2 separate regions of the Homo sapiens genome follow, and region 2 is linked to region 1. The links are contacts of gene promoters, found by promoter capture Hi-C in blood cells and fetal thymus (Javierre and others, 2016). All regions are on one chromosome and are shown on one strand. Each heading gives the region's core, a stretch centred on a gene start or on the middle of the fragment in contact. The rest is flanking DNA. Distances are from core to core; before and after follow the strand shown.

What was found. Contacts are between HindIII fragments. The CHiCAGO score rates a contact against its expected background, and 5 or more counts as called.
Region 2: a fragment that was not itself captured here is called in contact with the fragment with the promoter of XNDC1N in region 1 in 1 of 17 cell types (monocytes); the score reaches 5.1 in monocytes.

What each region holds. Positions count from the first base shown.
Region 1 is chr11:71,924,517-71,931,665 of GRCh38, reverse strand. XNDC1N (XRCC1 N-terminal domain containing 1, N-terminal like) reads left to right here and starts at 3,072. Exons shown (of 6, transcript NM_001375847.2): 1 at 3,072-3,301. RNF121 (ring finger protein 121) reads right to left here and starts at 2,620. Exons shown (of 9, transcript NM_018320.5): 1 at 2,542-2,620. The coding sequence starts at 2,604. It overlaps XNDC1N-ZNF705EP-ALG1L9P (XNDC1N-ZNF705EP-ALG1L9P readthrough), which reads left to right and starts at 3,072. Exons shown (of 11, transcript NR_172895.1): 1 at 3,072-3,301. RefSeq lists an enhancer at 2,930-3,239. The HindIII fragment of the contact is 13,024 bases long and covers 2,807-7,149 here.
Region 2 is chr11:74,170,111-74,177,259 of GRCh38, reverse strand. PPME1 (protein phosphatase methylesterase 1) reads right to left here and starts at 5,971. Exons shown (of 14, transcript NM_016147.3): 1 at 5,738-5,971. The coding sequence starts at 5,838. It overlaps C2CD3 (C2 domain containing 3 centriole elongation regulator), which reads left to right and starts at 6,258. Exons shown (of 33, transcript NM_001286577.2): 1 at 6,258-6,522. The coding sequence starts at 6,468. RefSeq lists enhancers at 5,177-6,099, 5,877-6,326, 6,100-7,023. The HindIII fragment of the contact is 971 bases long and covers 3,874-4,844 here.

The DNA.
Region 1 (7,149 bases), core at 1,823-4,322:
TTATAATACGCTATTTGCATGTCTCTTCACTCGACTGTAAATTGGTAAAGATCCTGTCTTACTCATCTTTGAATTATCAGTGCATAACACACAGTAGACCCCATAATTACATATTAAAGACGGATTTCACCTGCTGTTTCACAAGCTAAGGCTGCAAAGAAACAGCTGGGGAGACATTAGTAGAAACCTGAATACCAACTAAGGTCTGCCAGACCAGACCTCTGTTATTTTTGGAGCTTGAAGGGATGACTGTTCTGCTTCTCAGAGCTTACTTTCTCAAACATACAACAACAAAAAAGATAGAACCAGTCCACACGGAATTTCCAGACAACAGATTATACCTTTTCTCAGGAAATGAAACAAGTAACAAGGTTCCTGGAATGAATGCTAGTGGTTTCATATAAAGTTAACTCCTATGCATGATACTCTGTAAAGTCTATTATACTACTAGACGCTCTCAAGTCCTTCAAGCAATAAAGAAAAGCTAAGAAACAAAAATCAAACATGTCTTAATGAAAATGTTATTTTCTTAGCCGGGCGCGGTGACTCACACCTGTAATCCCAGCACATTTGGGAGGACAAGATCGGCGGCTCACCTGAGGTCAGGAGTTCGAGGCCAGCCTGACCAACATGGAAAAACCCTGTCTCTACTAAAAATACAAAAAATCAGCCGGGCGTGGTGGTGCATGCCTGTAATCCCAGCTACTCAGGAGGCTGAGGCAGGAGAATTGTTTGAACCCAGAAGGCAGAGGTTGTGGTGAGCTGAGATTGCAATACTGCACTCCAGCCTGGGCAATAAGAGCGAAACTCCATCTCAAATAAAAAAAGAAAATGTTATTTTCTCCTCTGCCAAAACTTCTGCTGTTTATCTCAATGAACCCTGACATATGTAACTACAGCTTTGAGATATACGTAATTGTCTCAAGGGAGAGCCCATGACTAACAAACCTTAAATAAGAACTTCAATACAGTATTTACCCTTTCCAAAGTGTCTTCAAATATATCTCACTGAACCACAGCCAACTGTAATCACAGAAATGTAAAAGCTAGAAGGGGTCTTGGAGGTCATTTCCACAACCACTCCACCTAACCAACCAACTGGTATCCAAACACCTGTAGTCTCTAGTGATTGGGAGGTAGAAGACTACAACACTTCTTTAAAAATCCCCCTGCTGTGATCACCTGTCAATTTCTCAGTCCCTTCCTCCCACCTTAATGATCCCAATCAGGTAATCCAACTCCTCCAACTCATCCCACTACCAGGCAACAGTCTTATTGCTTCCCAAGTCCACTTCTCCCTTTCTCTGAACCTCATCTTCAATCATCCCCAATCCTCCCCACTCTTCCCACACCCAACACACAGCAAGGGGCCTCTAAGATTCTGACCCCTCAGAGATCTCACTGGTTCTATCTCTGACAACCAATCCCCTTCCTCCTATTCCTGTGATGTCTTTGCCCATATGCTGGCATGTGCAAGATCACAAACACCACTAGCTATCAATGTCTCCATGGCTTCAGAATCTTTTCACCTCTGTCTCTGCTTCTCTGCCCTGTCCCTTCATTCCTTTCACACTCAACATCTCCTTCCTCCTAGTGATTCCTTCAAGGACCACTGGTATTTTAATACACCAGTCTTTAAATGCCTATTAGATAGGTAAAGGGAACATACAATCTCAAGGAGCTCACCTTCAAGGAACTCATAAATCCAGAAGAAGAGAGAGACACTTATTTATCGTTTAAAACTCAGCAACTCCGGGAAGCCTTCCCTATCCCAAGCTGAAATGTTGCACACTTCTCAGTGCCACCATTATATCTCTAATGCAATGACTAGTCTTCTTGTCTGTCTCCCACCACTAGACTGTGGGCTCTTCAACGGAGGGGCCCCTTGTCTCCCTAGCACCTGGCCCAGAACCCGGAGCAAAAGTCATAATGTTTATTAAGTGAATAAATGCATGAATTCCGGCATACAATCATTTATTCATCCACTTGTTCCTTCATTCGTTGGCCAAAACTTTACTGAGCATGCATTAGATACAAAGTCTTAGAATGGAACGATAAATAAAACAGTTCCAACTTTAAGATAACTCAAAGCTATACTACTAGTGGATTAGCACTCTTTCCCGGTCTGTGTCCCCAACCCCCACCCTAGGCTTAGACAGAGTCCTCTCCCACAGTAGAAGCCCAGCCTTCCCCTGAAGAAATTCACGTCCCTCCAACTCAAACTACCTCTTAGCCCTTCGGTCCTACCCTAAGACACCCAGCTAGTAATCACAAAATCTTAACACCCCCACCCCTCCGACCTCTCTCTCTGTCCTCCATCTTCACCCTTGAGGCTAATGCAAGTCTTCTACTCCCAAGGCCGCCTCGGAGTCCCCAAGTCAGGAGTGCCTCTGACTTCGCTCTCCACGCACCCGCCCCCTAGTCAGCTCCTTCCCTCTCAGGATCTTTCCCTTCTCTCCTAAGACCCCCACCTCCCGATACCTCACTGCCCCTCCCCTCAGTCTCAGGTTGAGTCTCTCCTCGTCTCTCAACTCCGCTTACCTCATCCAGCTCCCGTTCCCCAGCAGCACCACCTCCAACCTCCACCTCCACCACTGCCGCCATCTTCACGGCTCGCCCCCTCACCGCAGTCCCCGCGCGAGCCAGCTGCTTCCGCTGCTCAAGTGCTCCTAGCCAATCGGCGGCTCGGACTCCAGCAGAGGGGGCGGGGCATCAACACAGGCGGAGACTGTCAGGGATCAGGAGGTTATCTACTTGCTGCACGTTTCAGGGTCAAGGAGAGGGGAGTACCGTGCCCTTGCAAGCTTCAGCAAGGGAGCGTTCTTGGAAAATGAGAAATTTGAATCGCATTATTTTCAGTGCAACTATTTAACCAATTCTTCCCTTTGGAGAGCCAAATGGGAGCGTTCCAAAACGGGCAACTTTCGCGACGCTCCCTCAGTCTGGGCTCCAAGGAGCGAGACGTGGGGACTAGGAACTACGTTTCCCAAGCTGCACTGAGGCTGACCCGGAAGTTTAAATTCCGCTCCCTCCACGAAAGAGTTGTAGTGAGTGAAAATAAATATTAAAACACACGGAAATGTATTTTCCTGGCTGCAGCACCTGCCATCTTGCCTCGGTAGGACTCATTTTCAAAAACAGCAGCTTCTTGAAGCCCCAGAACGCATTCCTGTGCTACGGAAGACGGAAGAGTAGCTCTCGGGGTCAGAAGGCGAAGGTCAGAAGGCCGAATTGGCGGGAGAATAGGTTTGGTGGTCCGAGATCCGAGGCAACGGTGGCTCCTCGAGGTCCACGGTCCCGGGTGAGGGGCGTTGGGATTTGTTGATGGGGAGGGGAGTGGCCGAGAGGGAGGAGGGTGGCCATCAAGGAAATGAACTGAGCAGCCTGTTCCCGATGAGCTGTGAAAGCAGCGGTGCGGCTTGAGCTCCCGAAACTGAGAGCTGAAGAGCCTTGCGGGACCTCCAGGGCACCCACATTCCGCGTCTTACTTAGGCTGTCATGCCAGTTCACACACCTCGGCACACTTTTCTAACCCACATCCTGCGGCCCCAGCTTCTGCCTTACCCTCCTTTTTATACACCATTCACTGTCCCACCCCTACGTATACCTTCATAACTGATTTTTCAGCAGCCGGTGAACTCGATACCTTGCAAGCCTGTAGCCCCAGCTCACACGCCTCTGGGCGTCCGCCTGGATCTGTCTGGTGAATGGAACTAGGATGGCCTGTGAGCCCACAGAACGTCTAGAAAAGTCAGCTTTACATTGGGACCAACAGAAAATTACAGGGAATTATCTACATCATCCACAGGCATCCCATTTACTTAAAAATAATCATTTTTATTTTGTGACACTTAATACGGAGAATATTGTAAATACTGTACACCCATCACCCTAAATTGACTACTGGCATTATGATTTATTTGCTTATTTTTTAAAAGCTAGATAATACAATAAAAGTTAAACTTACCTGTTTTTTCTACTCTCAAGCCTATTACCCTCTCATCCTCTCCAGAAGCAACTATTATGAATTAGAATTAGCTTGTGTTCTCCCAGTCCATTTTTAATAATTATATGTAGCCATGACTATATAGTATTGTATTGTGTTTCATTTTGTTTTTTAATCTGAGTGCTTTTTTTTTTTCTTTGAAACGGTGTCTCGCTGTGTTACCAAGGCTGGAATGCACTGGTTCAATCTGGGCTCACTGCAGCCTCCGCCTACTGGGTTCAAACGATTCTCATGTCTCAGCCTCCCAAATAGCTGGGACTACGTACGCGCCACCACGCCTGGGGAAATTTCATATTTTTAGCAGAGATGGGGTCATGGCCATGGTCTCGAACTCCTGACCTTAAGTGATCCACCCGCCTCGGCCTCCCAAAGTGCTGGGATTACAGGTGTGAACCACTGTGCCCAGCCTGAGTGATACAGGGTCCGGCTCTGTCGCCCAGGCTGGAGTGCAGTGGCGTGATAACTGCTCACTGTAGTCTCATCTCCCAGGCTCAAGCAATTCTCCCACCTCAACCTTGTGAGTACCTGGGACTATAGGCATGTGCCACCACACCTGGCTAATTTTTAAAAATATTTTGTGGAGATGGGGTCCCACTATGTTGCTGGTCTTGAACTCCTGGGTTCAAGCAATCCTCCTGAGCCTCCGCCTCCCAAAGTGTTGAGATTACAGGCGTGAGCCACTGTACCCAGCCTTTTAGGTATAATTATTTGTCTTTTATTTTATTTTATTTTATTTTATTTTATTTTATTTCATTTTTTGAGACAGAATCTCACTTTGTCACCCAGGCTGGAGTACAGAGGGGTGATCTTGGCTCACTGCAACCTTTGCCTCCCGGGTTCAAGTGATTCTCCTGCCTCAGCCTCCTCAGTAGCTGGGATTACAGGCATGTGCCACCACACCCAGCTAATTTTTGTATTTTGAGTAGAGACAGGGTTTCACCATGTTGGCCAGGCTGGTCTCAAACTCCTGACCTCAAGTGATCCACCCACGTCAACCTCCCAAAATGCTGGGATTACAGGTGTGAGCCACCACGCCCAGCCTAGGTATAATTTTTTAGATACGTTGTGAGGTAGGGATCTACTTTTATTTTTCTTCACATTGTCAACCAATTTCCTGAACATCATTTATTACTTTATTGTTTCTGACAGAATCATGATGCTGCTCTGAAGTGTGGGAGATCATGAACATGACAAAAATCCACATCCTCAAAGAGCTTGCTACTTAGTGAGAAGGCATACAGGGTAAACGAGTAATTACCAAAAAATGGCAGCAACAGTTTTTGTAAGGGAAGGAGTTCTCAAAGAACTTAATCTTGTGAGAACTACAAGCAGTTTGATTGTCAGGATTGCCAAACCAAGAGTGTTTATTTATTTATGTATTTATTTATTTTTGAGACAGGGTTTCACTGTCTCCCAGGCTGGAGTGTGATGGTGCAATCTCAGCTCACTGCAACCTCTGCCTCCCAAGCTCAAGCAATCCTCCTGCCTCAGCCTCCTGAGTAGCTTGGACTCCAGGCACACGCCACCACATTTGGCTAATTTTTTTTTTTTTCAGAGATGGGATTTCGCCATGTTGCCCAGGCTGATCTTGAACTCCTGGGCTGAAGATATCCACCCTCCTCGGCCTCCCAATGTGCTGGGATTACAGGCCTGAGCCACCATGCCTGGCCCAAGTGTTCATTGATGATGAGAGATGGGCTTTTCGCATCAAATCACAAAAATATGCTGTGAGTTTCTTCAAAACAGAGACTATGTCTTTTTATTTATTTTTATTTTTTTTGAGACGGAGTCTTGCTCTGTTGCCCAGGCTAGAGTGCAGTGGCGTGATCTCGGCTCATTGCAAGCTCCGCCTCCCAGGTTCACGCCATTCTCCTGCCTCAGCCTCCCGAGTAGTTGGGACTACAGGCCCCCGCCACCACGTCCGGCTAATTTTTTGTACTCCTGACCTCGTGATCCGCCCACCTCAGCCTCCCAAAGTGCTGGGATTACAGGCGTGAGCCACCGCGCCTGGCTCAGAGACTATGTCTTATTTTTATTATTTTTATATCTCTAAAATCTAGCAGAAGAGGAAAGATTTTTGTGTGCCCAGTGAGTTCCCGTAGTGGGAATAGTGAGCTTTAATTAATCTGAGCCCTAGAGAGGAGACTCAGGACTCATCTTTCATTCTTCTGTCTTTGAAGCCTTAGCCGCATACTGGCTGTGGCCTGTGAGGACTGCTTGATGTTTAGATGGCATTCACTAAGAGCTTGTTACTGCTATTGCTGCAATCTACCCCATTTTGAATGCTTTATGACTGTGAGCCCTTTGGAGCACAATTTTTATGGTCATTCGTTCAACAGACATTTGCAAATCAGGAACTATATTCTCCCTTTTACATTGGGTACACAGAAATGATTCAGACGTGAAACCTGTCCGCCGAGAGCTTACAATTTGTCAAGGGACAAAGAAGACATACCCATATAATTGTAATGTGAGGCACTCTGTTAAAGGCTAAGTGAGAATTGACAGGTTGGAGCTGTCACCTTGAGCTGTTTAAGCAGAGGAGAGGTGACATTTGAGCACCAAAGATGCATTAGATTTGGTAAATGGGAAAGAGAAAGAACATTCCAAGCAGAGGCAATGGCATGAGCAAAATCGTGGAGAAAAGGGAAAAAAAGTTTTGGTGGGGAGGGTAAGAAAAAGACCATTATGGCCAGGAGTATATCAAGAGTCACGGACTCATATTTTCAGGAGCCAGATGGGTAGTAAACATGAATAAAATGGACAGGGATAAATATTTGAAGAGATTCCACCTAAAGACACTCAGACAACTTTAAAAACTCCTTTCAGCAAGGAATTGTTGAAGTAAGGTGATGGATGCATAAGTTCATTATACTAATATGTGTGTTTTTGCATATATTTAAAATTTTACATAAAATGTTTGGCAAAACACGAAGTACAAATACCCATGTGAACTTTTTTTTTTGTTTTTTTTCTGAGACGGAGTCTCGCTCTGTAGCCCAGGCTAGAGTGCAGTGGCAGTGGCACGATCTCTGCTCACTGCAAGCTCCACCTCCCGGGTTCACGCCATTCTCCTGCCTCAGCCTCCCGAGTAGCTGGGACTACAGGCGCCCACCACCACGCCAGGCTTATATTTTGTATTT
Region 2 (7,149 bases), core at 3,110-5,609, 2.2 Mb before region 1:
CCAACTCCCAAGCTCAAGTGGTCCACATGCCTTGGCCTCCCAAAGTGCTGGGATTACAGGCATGGACCACTGAGCCTGGCCAGGACTATTTCTTTATTGTAGTGAAATTTACGTAATGGGTAAAGGACTAAAAAATTTAATAAATGATGAAAACAACTAGATAGCCTTTGGATAAAAATAAAATGTCTTCTTTTCCTCACTTTGCATATCAAGATAAACTTCAAATGGATTAAAAAAAAATTGGCTCATGCCTGTAATCCCAGCACTTTGGAAGGCTGAGGTGGGTGGATTACCTGGGGCCAGGAGTTCAAGAGCAGCCTGGCCAACATAATGAAACCCCGTCTCTACTAAAAATACAAAAATTAGCTGGGTGTGGTGGTGCATGCCTGTAATCCCAGCTACTTGGGAGGCTGAAGCAGGAGAATCGCCTGAACCCGGGAAGTGGAGGTTGTAGTGGGCCAAGATCACACCACTGCACTCCATCCGGCCTCGGTGACAGAGCAAGACTCTGTCTCAAAAAAAAAAAAAAAAAAAAAAAGGACACTACACAGGTACCAGGAAAAAATATAAATGATTCCTTTATAACCCAAAAAAAGGAAAAGCCTTTCTGTGACTCAAGATCCAGAAGCAATACATGCTGGGAGGAAGGGAAGATGCTAATGAGTAACGAGTTTATGGGAGGATGAAAATGTTCTGCAATTAGTGGTGGTAATTGTACAACTGAGTGAATATACCAAAAATCACTGAATTGTACATTTAAAAGAGTGAATTCTATGGCATATAAATTTAACTTTTTAAAAATCTAATGAAAAAATAAAAAAAAAAACAGAAATACTGGGATTTGATTATTTTAGTAACTCAATTTGTGACCTTGAGCAAATCACTTCACTTTGCCCTTTATTTCCCCATCTGTGTGAATAGCTCATTAAAGCCTTCCTAAGAGGCCTGATATCCATAATAAATTTAAGAAGATGGATGAAAGACTATCTAATCAGATATGAATAAACATACAGCTTGTGGGGACAAAAAAGCTGATAACATAAGAAACTGAAAGGAGAGCTTCCACATAAACTATGAACCTTCTTCACAGTTCTCAATGTATAATTATCTACTAGCTATCATTCTTTAAGAGCTTATGTGTCAGTGTCAGGAACTATAAGTGCTTTTTATGTATTATCTTATTCTCACAGCACTCTCAGGTAAGCAGAAGTATTCTCATTTTAGAGATAAGAAAATAGACTATGAGAAGTTAAATGACTCGACCAATGTAAATACCTAAGTTGGGCTTCAAACTTAGATCTTTGTCACTTCAAATATCAAACCCTTCAATGCAAGCTATAGAAAGAACAATGGACTAAAAATACGAAGTCCTGGGTTTGAATGTTGTTCCTGCCACATAATGATTCTGTGATCTTAGGCAAGTCAATGAACATTTCAGTTTTCTCATTTATTAAAAGAAAATATTAACTCCTGCCCTAGTTTACCTCATAGAATATAAAAAGGGACTACTATATACATGTCAGTTAAATCACTACAGAGCTGGGCATGCTAGCATGTATCCTCAGTCCTACCTACTCAAGAGGATGAAGTGGGAAGACTGCTTGAGCCCACGAGTTTGAGGTTGTAATGCACCAAGATTATGCCTGTGAAAAGCCACTGTACTTCAGCCTGGGCAACACAGCAAGACTCTATCTCTTGCAAAAGAAAAAAAAAGGAATTTAAGAGATAATAATAGAAAAGTAGAACTTTTTTTTTTTTGAGATGGAGTTTCGCTCTTGTTGCCCTGGCTGGAGTGCAATGGCGCGATCTCGGCTCACCACAACCTCCGCCTCCCAGGTTCAAGTGATTCTCCTGCCTCAGCCTCCTGAGTAGCTGGGATTACAGGCATGTGCCACCACGCCAGCTAATTTTGTATTTTTAGGAGAGACGGTGTTTTTCTATGTTGGTCAGGCTGGTCTTGAACTCCCGACCTCAGGTGATCCACCCGCCTCGGCCTCCCAAAGTGCTGAGATTACAGGCATGAGCCACCACACCTGGCCAAAAAGTACAACTACTGATAAACCAAAAACACGTTGAATAATGAATGGCTTTAATATTTTATAGTTCCTCTAATAGTAATAGTATATACGAAAGCAGTGACTTTCAAAAGATACTTCTCTCAAGCACACCAGGGGTGCAAAGCAAATAGGGATCTCAAATCTACTTTAGTCAGAGTAGCTCTAAAAGCTTTAATAAAGAAGTTCAAAACCACTGTTTTTGGCAACATCCATTGGCATCTATTAAAAGGAAGAGTGACACCAGGATTTCAGGCCTTACCCAAGAGAAAATATTAGTGTACTGAAAAGTGAATGGATTCTAGAGACTAAACTTAGATTGAATCCTAGCTCTGCTACCTACTAGTTGGGTTACTTTTAATCTCTGGGTCTGAATGTCTTTACCCACAATGCAGGAAAATATTCACCATGCAGGTCTGTGGACACATTAAATAACATAAAGTTACCATTACAATGTCTGGCACACAGTACTTACTTTAAAAATTGCTATTATTAAATTATCCAACAATACTTTGGAATTACTAAATCTAATCTGAAAAACTGAATTATGGAAACTCATGAAAAATCACCAACTCAGAATATGCACCCTGAATATGCAAACATGCCTAAATAATGTTTAGTGAAATTGAAGGCAAGAGATCATGAAAAATAGTTAAGAGTAAGCCACACAAGAGACTATCAAGAGAACAGGACTAACTTGTGAGTAACATAGATAGAGTGGAAGAATGGAAGTTAAGAAAAAAGCAAGTAAGCATAAGGAGACATAAAGAATGCTTTGAAATTGGTGTGAGACTTCATAAATTACGACTGAAGAAAAAGACTGAATCCTAGATTATATGCAAATGAGTAAGATACACAACTCAAAATAAGTATCCCCAGATGACAATTATGACTCCAAAATACACAATGGGTCTCACAGTCAAGAGACCCAAGTCCTAGTCCTTAACGGCCCTACCGCTAAGCTTCTAGGGTACCTTAGGAATATCTGAGTCTCAGTTCCCTCATTTATTAATACATTCCCTTATAGAATACAGAACTCTCTGAATATTGGGTTCCTCAACTACATGAAGTGGTGAAATGAGACCATGTCTATGCTTTCTCTCAGCTTTATGATTCTAAGGAGAAAGAGAATCTATATTATTACTACCATGAGACTTAGATGAAGCCTGCTTATATACCAATAAAGTAGAAAAGAAAGATACGGGAAAATAAGCCATTTGAGGACCACACAAATATTCGCCAATATATGCTCTTCTCTTCACAATACTATCATAAAGAAAGGCCTTTCTAAAGAACTTTCTTTTCCAGGATAAGCAGTTAACCTAAACCAAGAAGACCAAAGCATCTTTTTAAAAAGGTAAGTTGTCCAGGCACAGTAGCTCACTCCTATAATCCCAGTACTTTGGGAAGCCAAGTGGGGCAGATCACTTAAGGCCAGGAGTTTAAGACCAGCCTGGCCAACATGGCGAAATCCCCTCTCTACTAAAAATACAAAAATTAGCCGGGCGTGGTGGTGCATGCCTGTAATCCCAGCTACTTGGGAGGCTGAGGCACAAGAATCACTTGAGCCCGGGAGGTGGAAGTTGCAGTGAGCCGAGATTGTGCCACTGCACTCTAGCCTGGGCAACAGAGTGAGACTCTGTCTCTAAAAAAAAATAAAATGAAAAGTAATAAAAAATAAAAACGATAAATTACTAACAATTATACAATCTTCTAATCAGCAGATTTTCCTTTTTTTTTCTCTCAGTATCTTCATTCAGTTCTTCAATCTTCAGAGAACTTGTTTCTCCAAGATGAGAAGCTGAGCTCTAATTAAGCTTATCTAAGGAATGTATAATTATTAAAAATCTGATTTTCTTATGTATTTGTATAGAAGGGTGCTGGTATACTGAAAAATCAAATTTATTTTAAGAAAGGCAGCAACTAAGATATTTAACAACAATTAATGTTACATTAATATTAAACTCCAGGTTAGTTTTCCCAAATAATGTTATGGGTCAGTTTCCAAATTCTCTTTATTCATGTTATAGTCCAACTTTTCTGTCTTCCAAAGCCAAAACAATCTTCACTTTACCTTCTATGTAGCCTTCTACCTCTATTGTGCGTCTATCTCTCTATCTCCTCCTGCTAAAGTTTTCTCATTTTTCTACTGCGTATCATAGCAGGTCTCCACTCAATTCTTAGTTTCCTTCCCTGGTTTTTCCACCCATTTTTCCCATTCCTTTACCCCACTGTTTTATAGGATTCTCCTTTCTTTTCATCCCTAGGACTTACTGTCACAGTACTGCATCTCCTACTCTCGCCTCCTTTTTGATAAGTTTTTACACATATTACTTCTTCAGAACCTAAGGTTTCTCTTCTGTAGTCCTTTTTCAAAGAATATCTACCAATTCATCTCTAGAATCCCAAATATACTCTGGAGCCCTCATACCTAAGTATCTTTCCTACTCCTTTTCTCTTTACAGTCACTAATTCCCAGAATCCTGTTTGAAACTACAAATATCCCCTCAAAACCAAATGCCTATTCAATTCTCTCCACTTTCCAGCAATTACTTCTCCCATGTTCACCTCATTCTTTCTCCTCGGCCCAAGTATCCCCTAACCTGGCACAAGCCATTTAACGATCTAAAATTCCAAAACCTATCTCTTCTACATGGCTCTCCTTCCTTTCCAGCAAACTATTTCTCGAACTCCCAATGCTTCACTAATTCAAAGTCTTAGGCCAGTACGTCGCTTCCCTCAGATCTACTAGCCCAGCAAAAACTGATTGCCCAAATCTTCCTCTAAGCTTCCCAGACCTTACAACTGCAGCACTTCCATTCACCAAACCGTATTTATAGTCATCTCTCAATCTTTAGAGCCTATGGTCACTCTGTAAATTCTTCAGTTCTCTCCTTCTTCTCTCTCCCTTATCCTGTCCAGCTTCTCACTCTGTAAATTCTTCAGTCCTCTCCTTCTTCTCTCTCCCTTATCCTGTCCAGCTTCTCAGCACATTCCTACTACCCTTAACAATCTTCGTGGCTATGTTCTCCACCTTACCTTAGGCCTACTCCCTAAACTTTCTCATTCTCCCTTAAGAGACCTAATCTCACCTCTCATTCGCTGAATCTGTCTTTACACCTCTGGGAATTCTCTAGAATCGTCTGCTTCCTAGTTCTCCTCTTTCCTTCTCCAGCCCTGTCTCGAGTGTTTTCTACCCCCCTCAGCTTTTCTAGTATCTAGTTCTCACAGTGCAGATATTAGAACTCTGATAATATCTACTCCTCCCAAACCTTTCCTTAGTTGTTGGCCCAATTCCCCTCAACTTTTCTCTCAGTCATTCCCCACTTCCCTCCACCTTCCCTGGCCGATTCTCCTCCACCTTTGTCACCGTTCTACTCCCTTTTCTAAGCCTCCTTTATTGTGGAAGTGATTCTCAGATCCCTTATGTTAGTCTCTCAGCTTCCCCAACCTTTGCCTCATTCCCCTCTCCCTTCAACAACGTTATTTTTCCTCCAATTTCTATTGACTTGGCGCCTCCCCTAGTACCCCAATCTGCCTTCTACTCCATCTAAATATCTCCAGGCCGCCAACATTTTCTCCTATCAGTAGACTCCTTTCCCGTGCCTCTATGAACGCCCAGAGATACCATTCTCCAACGGCTGGGGCCTGGCCCATAGGGAGAAGGGGTATGGGTCACGTACCCCATTCGCATCTTGGCTCCGCTCTGACTGCCCCCGCTGCCGGGTAGAGGTGGGCGAGAGGGAAGGCGGCCGAGGTGCATGCTCTTTTCGAGGGCCGACATCGAGGGGAGGCTGCACGCACGTAGTCAAACAGTAGGCGAAGCTTCGTCCCACGTTGAGTGTGGCCCAACCGGTCACGACTCGCTCCCCTAACGACGCCCTGTCGCCTTTGGACAGCACCCAGCTACCCGTAGCACCGCCTACCGCCCACCGGCTCCGTAAACTCCACCCACTCGCTTCAGCGCTTCCACCGGAAGTGCGCAACAGCACTCATACAAAGGAAGCTGGGTAACAGAGTATGAGAACTCCGCAGACTCCCGGCTGGGAACCCGACGACTTTCACCGGAAGGAGGAGCGCTCTTCAGGGCAATGCACCCTGCGCAATGGAGTCCACAAAGGGCGCATCCCTATGCGCTTGCGCAGCTGGAGGCGCCCCCCAGCCAACCCCGGAGAGGTATTGTAGCAAAGCGTCCTGGGTATTGTAGTGTATTGGAGGGAAGGCGTCTTGGCGCCTTCTCTTCGCACCGTTTTCCGGAGACTGTTAGAGGAAGAGTCGCTTTTTCCTGCCTCCCAGGCTGCCCAGCGGCGCCGGTTGCCGGGGAACGCAGGCGCCGTGGGGAGGGATGGCGGGAGGATACTGCTTAGGTGCTGGAGACGGAGTTGAGCTGGTGAAGAAGAGCTCGGGCTCATCATGAAACAACGAAAAGGCCAAGGGTCTGGGGGCAGCCGTGGGCGCAAAAAAAGAGGTAACCTGAGCGATCAAAGATTGAGGAAAGCGTAATAGGAGAGCAGGGTGTAAGGAATTTTAGGGAGACCCGCACCCCCGCTGGATAAACAAGAAAAGGGACGTAAGAAGGAAGTAGCCAGGGAACCAGAAGGTTAAAAGGAAGGGCAATTGGCCCTCCAGAGAATAGAAAGGAATTAGGGGCTGGGGTAGGGGCCACAGACAGGCGATTAATGAGATGAAGGTTACCGGTAGGATGACTGTAGAGGAGAAGAACAAACAATGATGGGATTGGTTTTGATAACGAAGTGAAATGTATGTGTGTGTGTAGCTTTCGAGGTCCACAGGGACAGGAAGAAACATAAATTGGCAAAGGGATTATATCATTTGTTGTGTGATTGTGGGCAAGAATCACGTTTTATACATTACTGAATGACCAAGGATTAGTACAAAGCAGGACTCGGTAAATGTTAGTTGAATGAATGAAGTATGAAGGGCTGACTATGAGCAGGAGTTGGGAAAAATAATTGTAGAGTATAGAGCCGGGAAGAGTGGGGAATGACAGGTGTGATAGGATTGGAGTGGGGGTAAGGGCATGACGATCTCCTGAAGGACCTGAGATCATGAAAGAGTGTGCAGCAGAGAGTCC